2 separate regions of the Homo sapiens genome follow, and region 2 is linked to region 1. Evidence: promoter capture Hi-C in 16 types of primary human blood cells and fetal thymus (Javierre and others, 2016). All regions are on one chromosome and are shown on one strand. Each heading gives the region's core, a stretch centred on a gene start or on the middle of the fragment in contact. The rest is flanking DNA. Distances are from core to core; before and after follow the strand shown.

Region 1 (6,132 bases), core at 1,097-3,596:
TTGATGAACACAGCAGAATCTGAGACATTTTCAGAAACTTTGTACTGCAGATTTAATATGGTCTGTTGCTCAGGGGAAGCGGAGATTGTTGAGACTGTAGGCACCCTTATTTTCCCTCTCACATAGCAATCTTTTTTTTTTTCTTAAGACAAGGTCTCGCTCTGTCACCCAGGATGGAGTGCTGCGGTGTGATCACAGCTCACTGCAGCCTGAACCTCCTGGGCTAAAGTGATCTTTCCACCTCAGCCTCCCAAATAGTGGGGATTACAGGTGTGAGCAACCACGCCCCACAGTAGCAATCCTTTTCTTAAACCAGCAGCAGGACAAATGTCTTCCTGAAGATTTGTAACACCTGGTAGTGATCCCAACTCCTTCTGGGCCCGCTTAAGACTAAGTTTCTGGTTAGGAAAGAAGAAACTGCAGAGCTTAGTAGTTAAGGGCACACAGGAGTCAGACAACCTTGGGTGTGAATCCCGGCACTGCCATGGTACTAATGTGTTGCATGAGTCATGTTGAGAGGTGAGGCCAGCTGGACTTCCTGGGTCCAGTGGGGACTTGGGGAACTTTCCTGTCTTACAAGAGGATTGTAAAACGCACCAATCAGCAGGATTCTAAAAGTAGCCAGTCACGGGAAGGATTGAAAAAGAGGGCACTCTGATAGGATAGAAATGGAACATGGGTGGGGACAATAAGGGAATAAAAGCTGGCCACCCCAGCCAGCAGCGGCATCCCACTTGGGTCCTCCTCCATGCTGTGGAAGCTTTTTCGCTCTTCACAATAAACCTTGCTACTGCTCACTCTTTGGGTCCCGGCCATCTTTAAGAGCTGTAACACTCACCGCGAAGGTCTGTGGCTTCATTCTTGAAGTCACTGAGACCACGAACCCACTGGCAGGAACCAAGTCCAGACACAATGTTATGCAAGCTTTCTAGACCCTTTCTGTAAAATGGGTATAATAATAGTATCTAAGTCATGGGGATTTTGTGAGGATTAAATGAAATGCCTGTTAAGCATTTAAAATGCCTGGCACATTGAAAGTTCTTTTTGGAGACAAGTCTTGCTCTGCCGCCCAGGCTGGAGTGCAGTGACATGATCTCTGCTCACTGCAGCCTCTGCCTCCTGGGTTCAAGCAATTCGGTGCCTCAGCCCTGAGTAGCTGGGATTACAGGCATGCGCCAACACGCCCACCCAATTTTTGTATTTTTAGTAGAGATGGGGTTTCACCATGTTGGCCAGGGTGGTCTGGAACTCCTGACCTCAGGTTATCCTCCTGCCTCGACCTCCCAAAGTGCTAGGATTACAGGTGTGAACCACTGCCTTTGGGCCAAAAGTACTTAATTCTTATTGATGTCCACATTCAACAATTACTAGGTTTGTTTTTTCTGCATCCAGCTGCAAATGATCTTCAAAGTTGTGAACTCAGGAAATCTCAGAGGCGTTTATAGGCTTTCCAACCAGAGATGATATTTGTAATTCAAAGAAGTAAATAGAAATCCTTAAGAGAACCCCTTTCAAGCTAAGTTCCCATCTAATATGGAGTGGTGGCTTCGAATGATCCTTTTGGCTTATCTTTTTAAGTGTAAGAATTTTTGATGAATCACACTTCGTACCTATTTGGTCACTTTCACCAAAGTACAAAACCAGTCTGCCACCAGAAGAAATTTAATAACCTTGAGACTCAGAGAAGCAATGCTGCCTGATTGGTGGACAGCCAGACCAGTGAGGGTCAGACGTGGCTCTTCGGCTCCGGACACGGGAATGTGGTGGAAATGAGATCCTCCAGCGATTCTAAGGAGTGTTTTGTTCTTCTGGCTTAAGAGAAGGGCAGAGGACAGAACCAAGGGGAAAGAGAGACAGGCCCAGCCATTGTCTGACGTGAGGCACGATAACACATTAGAGGGCTGGTTTAGCAAAGGGCAAGGTAGAGTTGGCATTAGACGCGCTTGCAAAGGGAGGCGGGCAAGAGCTTCAAGACGCGAATGACACTTGAGCAGCCTGGGCTCACGTCTGGTAAGGTTTACGCCGCCTGTTCCCGCCATCTGGCAACTCCCTCCCAGAAGGGTGAGTTTGGTTCTTGGCAAATCCCCTTCGGACACACAAGCTCTTTTATTAAAATATAACCCCACTAACAGATTGCAGACTAGGCACAGAAGCCCCAAAGCACCCCCAGAGACCGCAGCAGTCCCGCCCCGCCGCCCCCGGATCCGCGCGGCTGCCAGAAGCTCCCCTCCCCCAGATCTTGGCCCCTCCCTGAGGCGCGCGAGCGTGTCGTCGCCCGCTCCCGGCCAATCAGGGCGCGCGACCAAAATAGCGCCATATAAAAGCTGGATGGCGGGCGCGGCCGGTGCAGAGCCTCGCGCTGGGGTGGGGTTGCGCGCGCAGGTGAGGGGGGCGGGGCCGGCGCGACCGGCGGGGCGGGGCGGACACTCCCACCGCGCACCTGCTTCTGCCTGACGTGTACCCGGAAGGTCGTCAGCTCAGGCTCCAAATATGTAACAGTGAGTTTCTAAGTGAGTCACACGGACGCGGTTGGTTTCCAGTGAGGCATAACTCATCGCTTCACTCTTCTCAACGGTTCCCTCTTCGGAAGGAAGCGCAGTCCGCAGCGTCGTCCGAGGGCGTGATCGCCTGCGTCGCACCCGCGTCTCCAGTGGCCACCCCTTGTCCTACAGGAACGCGCATCTGCTTAGCAGGCGCTGAGCCCTTGAGGAGGCCTAAAATGAATGAACGCGGCTGTGCCTCCTGAGCAGGCTCACAGTTGTGGGTGGGGGACAGAAGGGTGTCCATGCCTAAGGTCGACGGCGATAAGACAGACGTTCTTCCCAGGAGGAGATCAGTTCCAGGTGGGAGGCATTTCTAGGAGTCACCTTTCTCCGAGGAAGTGACCTGAGCTGTAGGAGGTGGAATCACAAAGGCTTTGGTGCCCTACACACCTGGGTTTTAGCCTCAGCTTGAGTCACTCACCCAGTCTGTGACGCTGAACACATCAGGAAACCTCAAACTTTCCCCATCTTTAAGATGCAGATAATAGCCGGTCACCATGGCGTGTGCTTGTAATGGCAGCTACTCGGGAGGCTGAGGCAGGAGGATCTCTTGAACCTGGGAGGTGGAGGTTGCAGTAAGCCGAGATCGTGCCACTCACTCCAGCCTGGGCAACAGAGCGAGACTCCATCTCAATAAATAAATAAATAACACTACATGACTGATAGCATATTTTTGAGGAGCATCTCTCCCCCTCCGTGCTTGGGTTTAATCCCCCCTTCCTCTCTCCCTCCCTCCCTTCCTCCCTTCTTTCTTCCTTCGTTACGTTTCTCTTCATTTCTTTTTTTCTCCATCATTCCTTCATTTTTCTTATTTTTTCCTAACTGATATAATTTACACACAATAAATCGCACAGAAATTAAGAGGACAGCTGGGTGAAGTTTTACATATGTATACACATGTCATTAGCCCCTAGGTCAAGATCTAGAACATTTCCATCACCCCAGGTTTCCAACTGCTCCTTCCGGTCAGTAGTACTTCCCCAGAGGTAACCACTATTCATTTGGACTTAAATTACCAAGTATGAGTTGTGTCTACTCTTAAACTTCATGTAATTGCAATCAAGCATTATGCTTTATTCCAAACTTGTCCAACCCGCACAGGCCACGGTTTTGAATGTGGCCCAACACAAATTTGTAAACTTTCTTAAAACATTGCGAGATTTTTTGTGACTTTATTTATTTATTTATTTTTTTGAGACAGAGTCTCTGTTGCCCAGGCTGGAGTGCAGTGGTGTGATCTCGGCTTACTGTAACCACCGCTTCCCAGGTTCAAGCGATTCTCATGCCTCAACCTCCCGAGTAGCTGAGATTACAGGCTGGTGCCACCACACCTGGCTAATTTTTGTATTTTTAGTAGAGATGGGGTTTCACCATATTGGGCAGGCCGGTCTCAAACTCCCGACCTCAGGTGATCTGACCACCTCGGCCTCCCAAAGTGCTGGGATTACAGGCATCAGCCACCGCGCCCCGCCATGTGATTTTTTTTTTTTTTTTTTAGCCCATCAGCTATTGTTAATTTTAGTGTATTTTATGTGTGGCCCAAGGCAATTCTTCCAGTGTGGCCCAGGGAAGCCAAAAGATTGGACACCTTTGCATTTCTGTTTTTTTTCACCCACCGTAGTGTCTGTAAGATTCCTCCATGTTATCACACGTATCAGTAGTTTGAAGTTTGTTTATTACTGAATAGTATTCTATTGCATGAATATACTTAAGTTAACTTATCCTTTTTACCATTGATGTGTATGTGGGTTGTTTTCAGTTTTTGGCTATTATGCATAAAGCTGCTCTGAACATTCATGTAGTATGATGAATAATTGATTTTAGTAGGATATATACCTATAAAAGGAATTTTTGTGTCATAGGATGATAGGTGTATATTTAGTTTTAGTAGACACTGCTGGCAGTTTCCCAAAAGGATTGAATCAATTTTTGAAAATTGGCTGGCCGCAGCAGCTCACGCCTGTAATCCCAGCACTTTGGGAGGCCGAGGCAGGTGGATCACGAGGTCAGGAGTTCGAGACCAGCCTGGCCAATATGGTGATTCTCCATCTCTACTAAAAAAAAAAAAAAAAAAAAAAAATTAGCTGGGCATGGTGGCGTACGCCTGTAGTCCCAGCTACTTGGGAGGCGTAGGCAGAAGACTCTCCTGAGCTCAGGAGGCAGAGGTTGCAGTGAGCTGGGATCATGCCAATGCACTCCAGCCTGGGTGACAGAGCGAGACTACATCTCAAAAAAAAAAAAAAAAAAAAAAAAAAGGACTGGTCGAGGTGGCTCACGCCTGTGATCCCAGCACTTTGGGAGTCCAAGGCAGACAGATCACCTGAGGTTGGAAGTTCGAGACCAGTCTGACCAACATGGAGAAACCGCGTCTCTACTAAAAATACAAAATTAGCTGGCCATGGTGGCGCATGCCTGTAATCCCAGCTAGCTACTCGGGAGGCTGGGGCAGGAGAATCGCTTGAACCTGGGAAGTGGAGGTTGCGGTAAGCCGAGATCATGCCATTGCACTCCATCCAGCCTGGGCAACAAGAGTGAAACTCCATCTCAAAAAAAAAAAAAAAGAAAAGAAGAAAAGAAAATTATAGTTACTTCACATCCTTGCCAACAATTGGTGTTAACAGTCTTAAATTTTTGATGGTTATGCAGCAGTATTTCCTAGTGGTTTTTTTTTTTTTTTTTTTTGAGACAGAATTCTGTCACCCAGGCTGGAGTGCAATGGCACGATATTGGCTCACTGCAACCTCTGCCTCCCGGGTTCAAGCAATTCTCCTGTCTCAGCCTCCTGAGAAGCTGGGATTACCGGCATGCGCCACCATACCCGGCTAATTTTTGTATTTTTAGTAGAGACGGGGTTTCACCGTGTTGGCAAAGCTGGTTTTGAACTCCTAACCTCAGGTGATCTGCTCACCTCGGCCTCCCAAAGTGCTGGGATTACAGACGTGAGCCACCGCACACGGCCAAAATCAGGTTGTTTTCTTACCATTGAATTTTGAGAGTTCTTTAAATATTCTGGATACAAGTTCTTTATTAAAAAGACTCCCTTCCATTGACTTTGCACCTGCCACTTTGTGAAACGTCAGTTGGCCATATTTGTGTGAATTTATTTCTGGACCATTTGTTCTGTTTCATTGATCTGTGTCTATCCCTTCACCAACACGACACTGTCTTGATTGCTGTAGCTTTAAAGTAAGTCTTAGCGCCCTCCAACTTTGTTCTTTTTCCTGATTACTTGGGTATTTTACTTCATTTGACTTTCCATATGTATTTTAGGCTTGTCTATATGTTTTAACAATCCTGCTGGGAATTTTGTTCTTTTTTTGTTTGTTTTGTTTTGTTTTTCAGACAGAGTCTCAGTCTGTAGCCCCGATGGAGTGCAGTGGTGCCATCATAGCTCACTGTAACCTCAAACTCCTGGGCTCAGGGGATCTTTCTGCCTCAGCCTCCTGAGTAGCTAGGATCACAGGTGTGCATCACCACACCTGGCTAATTAAAAAAAAATTTTTTTTTTTTTTGGTAGAGACGGAGGTCTCGCTATGTTGCCCATACTGGTCTCAAAATTCCTGGCCTCGAGTGATCCTCCTGTCTCAGT
Region 2 (6,554 bases), core at 1,441-3,940, 3.6 Mb before region 1:
GCTGAAGTCTTATTTTTATCTAGAGACATCTTGGTGGTGGTCACTATGGCAATGGCAATAAGTTCTTAGATCGTAAGATTTTCAGAAATTTGAATTCTTAGTCATTTTCAGGAAAAAGTTAAATTGAGCAGTTGAGGGTTTTTAAAGCTTTGCACACATGCATGTTAATACAGAAAAATTAATTTTTTAATTAATCAAATTCAAGTTAGCAGCCCTTAAGACATCATAAAAAGGTAGAGTACTGACTCTGTGCAACCAGTCATCACATCTGGAAAAACATGCAATGGGCTGGTCTTAGTGATTCTGAGATATGGAAATCCAAGGAACTGGTCTTCCTAGGATAGTGGAAATTTAGTCACTAAAAACATACCAGCACTTCTTGTAGGTGTTCACAGTCCTATTTTTGCTTGTTTTCAACAACATAACTTTGTCAGCTAAAATGCGGAAACTAGTTTCTCAGCCATCCAAAAATGGTTTAGTCTTTTAACAGGGAGGGAATTAGCATCCACTGACCATCTTATCTATTATGATGGATTTACACACATTCTCACCTAATCCTTACATGTTAACCAAGGACTCCTATCCCAATTTCATTTCTCTTAACTTTTCAGTTTCCTTGTCTATTGTTTTATTTGTACAAGGTCATGGACTTCAACATAGGTATAAATCCTAAAGCCAATGCCTCTCAGAGGGAACAGGAATGATACATTATGGAATAAATTTAATACTCTCCTTCTTTAAAATGGAGAGCTACAACAGTAGGCAGGTCTCTGCTCTCAAACTTTTCAGGCACATTGAAATACAAATGAATATTAAAGAAGCGCTATCAAATCAATGAGCTTGGATTTCAATCTTGCTCTCTTCTGCCTGAGCTTCTAACCTCAGCTAAGTACCCTCATCTCCGTTAACTCTGGTTCCCATAGAAAGAGTGGATAATATCTAGAATTTGAAACTTACTCCTGAAGATAAAGGCTCATGAGAAAATGTATTTGAAGGATTTTAAAAAATACACAGACCTATAACTTCTGCCCTGAGAATGGTGATTTATATTTAGAATGTGGCTAATAACAAGCAGAAAAGGCTGGTACTAGCTATTACTAGAACCAAAGAATTTTAGAGTGGGCAATCTTTTAAAGTAGTAGGCCCTTCTTCCAATTAAAAGATGAGGAAACTACTGGACATGGTGGCTCACACCTGTAATCCCAACACTTTGGAAGGCCGAGGCGAGTGGATCACTTGAGATCAGGAGTTTGAGACCAGCCTGAGCAACATAGTGAAACCCTGTCTTTACTAAAAACACAAAATTAGCTAGGCACGGTGGCTCACGCCTGTAATCCTAGCTACCTGGGAGGCTGAGGCACGAGAATCACTTGAACCGGGGAGGCGGAGGTTGCAGTGAGCTGAGATCATGCCATTGCACTCCAGCTTGGGCAACAAGAGTGAAACTCCATCTTAAAAAAAGAAAAAAAAAAAAAAGAGAAAACTTGAGTTAAATTATTTTATCCAAAGTCATATTGGTACAGGCAGAATAAAGACTACATGTCCAAGAAATAAAACATTTTATGTTTTCTGGAGTGTGCTTCATTTAAGTGAAAATGAACTTTTTGGGTGTGATTTACTGCTCTTTTCAACTTCTGAAGTGGGACTAAATAGAATGAAATATGAAAATCTCAAAACCTAAGTACTCCAGCCGTGACTTAGTAGACGTATTTGTAATATATTTTTGCAACCTCATCTCATAGAACATCACTAAGCAATGGTGATGGTGGTTAAACCAATATATAAATACATTCGTCAAAACTCATCAAATTGAGCACTTCAAACTTATTAATTTTATTGCACATAAATTATATCTCATAAAAAGTAACTTTAAACAATTAGGTGTGGGAATGTAAACTTGCTAAAAGTAAGCTCCTCGAGGAAACACCGCCTTGTTCACGCCCATATCCTACCCCCGGCACTAGCACAATGTTGCTTGTGTAATATGTACTTATGAATGAATATTAGCGCCCCCGAGGCTTAGACTGAACAGGTAAACGTTTAAAAAACGAATCATACGAGGGATACTCTTTTCACCAAGTTATTGATAAAATCCTCGCATCAATTTAAATTCTGGTAACTTTAAACTGCATGTAAAGCAACTGCAGTCAGCATGTGCTGTACTATTTCAGAATGATTGATTTCACAGTGACCCAGATTCCAATATTCACTAGCGCCTTTCACGACCCATGAACCCTTCCTCCCCTAGGGAGCTTGGCATTTATGCAGCCTGCCGGCAGGCTACACCCCCCCGAACGCGGAGTTTTGTGAGCAATCAACGCACTTCACGTGTCTCCTGGGCGGTGGGACCGGAGTTCTGATACAAAGAGGTCGAAGGACCTGACCAAAAGCCCGTCGCACGCCAGTGCCTGGACACCCGCCCGCGGGGACGTGCAAGACCCCCCGGCCCACGCCCCCACGGACACTGGGGAGACATCCGGGGAGCACTGCTAAGCCATCCACCTGTCAGCCTCAAGTCCAGGAGGAAATTCTGTGATAGCTGCTTCGCTGCTTGCAGTCTTAACAACTTAATGATTTCTCGAATCGTGGGCAACGGAGGGAGACGGCAAGTGCTGAGTTTTCCGGAGGCAGCCATGATACGCGGCAAGCACCATCCAACCCTACCTCACCCAGGACCTTCACCGCCGCTCCGAAAGAAACGCGCAGGGGAGGAACCTGCGAGACCTAAGGCCCGCCTCGGAGTCAGCCCCATTGGTCAGACCTATCCCACCGGAAGCGATGACCGCGGACAGGAAATTCCCGGCGTGCTGAGAGCGCATGCGCTAAGTCCTGCCGCGAGAAGGGCAGGCTGGGTGGTCGGCGGCTTCCGCCTGTGAGAGCCGGGGGAGAGCCGGGTGGACTAGGCTTCTCCTGGGCGGGCTATGGGGAGAGCGCCCAGGAGGGCGGGACGAGGCGGGGCCTGGACAGGGTGGGGTTTTTCGGAGGAGTTGCTCTGAGAGGTGCAGCCGGTTTACTCCCGCCCTGAAGTTCCCAAGGGCTTCCGGCTCTTTAACGTTCTAAATACCTGTCTGTGAATATTAGAGGAAAAGCGGGTGCTTAGAGGCAAAGCTACTGTTTGTTAGCAATTCTTTCTTACTGTGAGGCGTTTTTAGAACCGCCGCTCTGCAGATGCTGCATGATGGGTTTTTAACTTCGTTCAGCCTCAGTTTTTTCATCAGTTAAATGGAGCTAATGTCTACCTCAAAATTGTGAGCACTAAATGAGAGAGATCGCCTGGTGTGCACGTTCAGAACATAGTGCACGCATGGCATTGGGTAAGCTCCCACGTGATCAGTGGTGGCTGTTATTATTTGGCAGATGAATAATTGGCCAGTGTAAAGAGGTCATTCGATTTGCTAGGATTACAGCTAAGAACAGAGAGAAGACTGAAATATGAGTTCTGTCTTTCCGTTATACGAGATAAAAACAACGAAGCAAAAAAAAAAAAAAATTAAAGTTTCTCTGATAGGTGGGAGAATTTTGCTGTTTTAACCCTGCTTATGTTTGGACATTGCTGCGTTGATCACAAATGAATTTTAAAGTTTCTGTTCCTCAATTAGTAAGTTTTTAAAAAAGCTAATGGAAAACGAAACAACTATGGGTATGGATATAAAAATGAGGAGTACTTTGAAATTCCAGTGGAAAACTCAACCACCTTCTATAAAAGCTGTTTTAAAAGGAACTGAGATAATCTCCTAGCTTTAAAAAATAGTGATGACTACCATAGAGGTAAGGAGATTTGCCCAACGTGGCATCAAAATGTAGACTGGAAGTACAAACTCTTGATTCAGATATCTTATCGTCCAAAACACAGTATACCTGACAAAGCATTATTTCACAGTTATATTCATTATTTCCCGTACTCCTCACAATGGTCCCATGTGAATGAGATTATTATTCTTAGTTTGCTGTGAAGAAATAGGGGAGGTGAGGTCATTTGACAATGCCCAGAGTCAGACAGCAAAGTACAGAGAGAAGACAACCTGAGTTGTGTTTTTTCTGAGTTCTGATCTCACTGGCCACACTCAAGTATCAGCTTATTATTTTTAAGTTAATATGTGTTAATTTTGTAACATCTAAATATATAGAAATACGAATCTAGGTGTAAACATAAGCTTACAGTTTTCATATGACTATTTAAAACAATTGCAATAAATATATACAAAACCAATACAAATGGTCTTATTAATTGACAAGGATGAACACTGTTAAATCACGACACTTAGTGCTAACTGGCAGGTTTTCTTTTTTTTTTTTTTTTAAGTTTCAGCCTACCAGTGATCCAGTGTGCCATGTAATGACTGAATGTTCTCATTAGTTTTCTGGAGTCAAACTATTACCAAATCTTTGTTCAATTTTTTTTCCATTGTCGCTTGTCTTTCTTTTGGAAGAATATGGAAGCTACATATTAAGTCTGCCTGCATCTGTTTTCAGTAGCTTGGAAACAAGTGAATTTGAATTATTTGGCACTAATGCTACCATGAACACACACGTTGTGTAACAGGTATAAAGAGGATGTTCAGATGACCCCAAATATAATCACATGAGCTTTTTAAAAGATTAACATCAACATAAAAACAAACTAAAATCTAAATGAGTGAAACACCTTTGCGTGGAGAATTTGTAGATTCCTGATAATTTGTCCCCAGATCTAAATATGAATTTATGGATGGTTTATACCATGCCATCTTCAATAACTGAACCTATTTATAAAGCAGCTTCCTTTGTTACTTAATTCTCATTTCAATTCTGTGATGTAGGTTCACAAAGATGTGTCTTAGTTCATTCCTGCTGCTATAACAAAATATCTGAGACTGGGTAATTTATAAAGAACAGAAATGTACTTCTCACAGTACTGGAGGCTGAAAGTCCAAGATCAAGGAGCTGGCAAGTTTGTTGCCTTGTGAAGGCTGCTCTCTTTACCTCAAGATAGCATCTTGTTGCTGCATCCCCCAGAAAAGAGGAATGTCATGTCCTCACATGTCCAAAGGCAGAAGGGCAAAAAGGGATTAGCTAATTCCCTCCAGCTCTTCATAAGGTTGCTAATCCCATTTATGAGAGCTCTACCTCAATCAATTAATCACCCACTTAGGGCCTCCCTGTCAATATACTATCACATTGGTGATTTAGTTTCAGCACATGAATTTTGGGGGACATTCAGACCATAGCACAGTGCTTTGCTAGTAAGTGGTGTAACTGAGTTTAGATCTTCTGACTGCACTGTGCTTTTTATTAACCTCTGATACGTGTTAAATAATTTTTTAACTGAGTTAAAAATTCTAGCTTAGGAGAATCTTCCAAGTTTTTAATAGTTCTTGAGATCCAATTTTTATCATAAATATCTAATCCTCAGTTTTTAATTTTCAGAAAATTATGCATAACTCCCTGCAAAAGCCTAAGAAATCAGCAGGGGGTGTTTTAGTAGTGTATTTCACATATTAATGCAAATGGTTTTATCCCTTAAAAGAGAGGTATGCAGTTTCATCAGTTTTGAAGCTTTGAAGTGTCTGCTTCATCTAGATACAGATTTTAATATGCTAAAATATTATAATTAATACAGAAATCACTAGCCCCACCTGTCAGTGAAGATGAAGAACTACAAATGATTCATGCTAAACTATATTGTAGTATTCTAATTTGCGTAAAATCCCAAAATGATTATGTAGGAAAATTACTTATTATTTTAGTATTTACTTTAATAAAAATGCATATGTGACTTTATTTGGTATAAGTGATTTAGTCTCTATTTATAGAAAAAGTGCTAATTTTAAAAGGTTGTCATTTTACCGTTCCCTGAAAGAGACTTGAAAGCTGCAGAGAGCAATATCTTCCTGCCATGTGGGAATTTTCAGAGAAAATTAAATGTGGCTTGGAATTGCCAAATTGAACTTTATAAAATGACTATTATGGTATGTAAAGTGCCCTTTTCCGATAGTATTTTATAATTACATATAATATGATTCAATGCTCCAGAGAAATACTAAGAGCTGCATTTCACACATATTTAGGGTTTTTTTTGTTTTAATGGCTCTTTGATGCACACTGTTCATTCACAAAGGAATCTAGTGACCTACCTAGAGGGAAGAAGGAAAAACGTGATAACTCTGAGCAGACGGACCAAATGCTTATTCTGTGGGGATAGAAGTAGGGCAACTTATGGCAACAACACGAGCTAATTGCCTGAGGGAACCATGGAACACTTACACTATTTTTGAAAATACAGCGTTTATCCCTGTTTCAAGCAGTATTTGAAAGCCTGCTCATTGTCCCCAAAGGTCTGTGAATTATTGCCAAGTATCCTAATAAGATGTTGAGGATGGGCAACTCGTTCGACTCAGGGAGCTATGGGTAGGGCTTTTTCCTATACAGTAAGCAAACCTTTTTGTGAATGAAGAAAATATGCTAACAGCATTATAAACGAATTAGCCTTTATTATATAGGCAAACCTTTGAGATACTATGGGTTCAGTATCAGACCACCAAAATAAAGTGAATATCTCCATAAAGTGAGACAGA

Evidence for each region. Contacts are between HindIII fragments. The CHiCAGO score rates a contact against its expected background, and 5 or more counts as called.
Region 2: a contact is called between the fragment with the promoter of TFB1M here and the fragment with the promoter of LINC02901 in region 1, in 2 of 17 cell types (fetal thymus and monocytes). The highest score is 6.0, in fetal thymus.

Annotation. Positions count from the first base shown.
Region 1 is chr6:158,867,468-158,873,599 of GRCh38, forward strand. It overlaps LINC02901 (long intergenic non-protein coding RNA 2901), which reads left to right and starts at 2,347. Exons shown (of 3, transcript NR_160980.1): 1 at 2,347-2,510. RefSeq lists enhancers at 1,321-1,993, 1,994-2,666, 2,567-2,736, 2,667-3,340 and a silencer at 2,167-2,486. The HindIII fragment of the contact is 6,622 bases long and covers 923-6,132 here.
Region 2 is chr6:155,311,794-155,318,347 of GRCh38, forward strand. It overlaps TFB1M (transcription factor B1, mitochondrial), which reads right to left and starts at 2,691. Exons shown (of 7, transcript NM_016020.4): 1 at 2,503-2,691. The coding sequence starts at 2,635. RefSeq lists enhancers at 2,466-2,785, 2,784-3,774, 2,856-2,905, 3,456-3,505 and a silencer at 2,956-3,035. The HindIII fragment of the contact is 4,007 bases long and covers 146-4,152 here.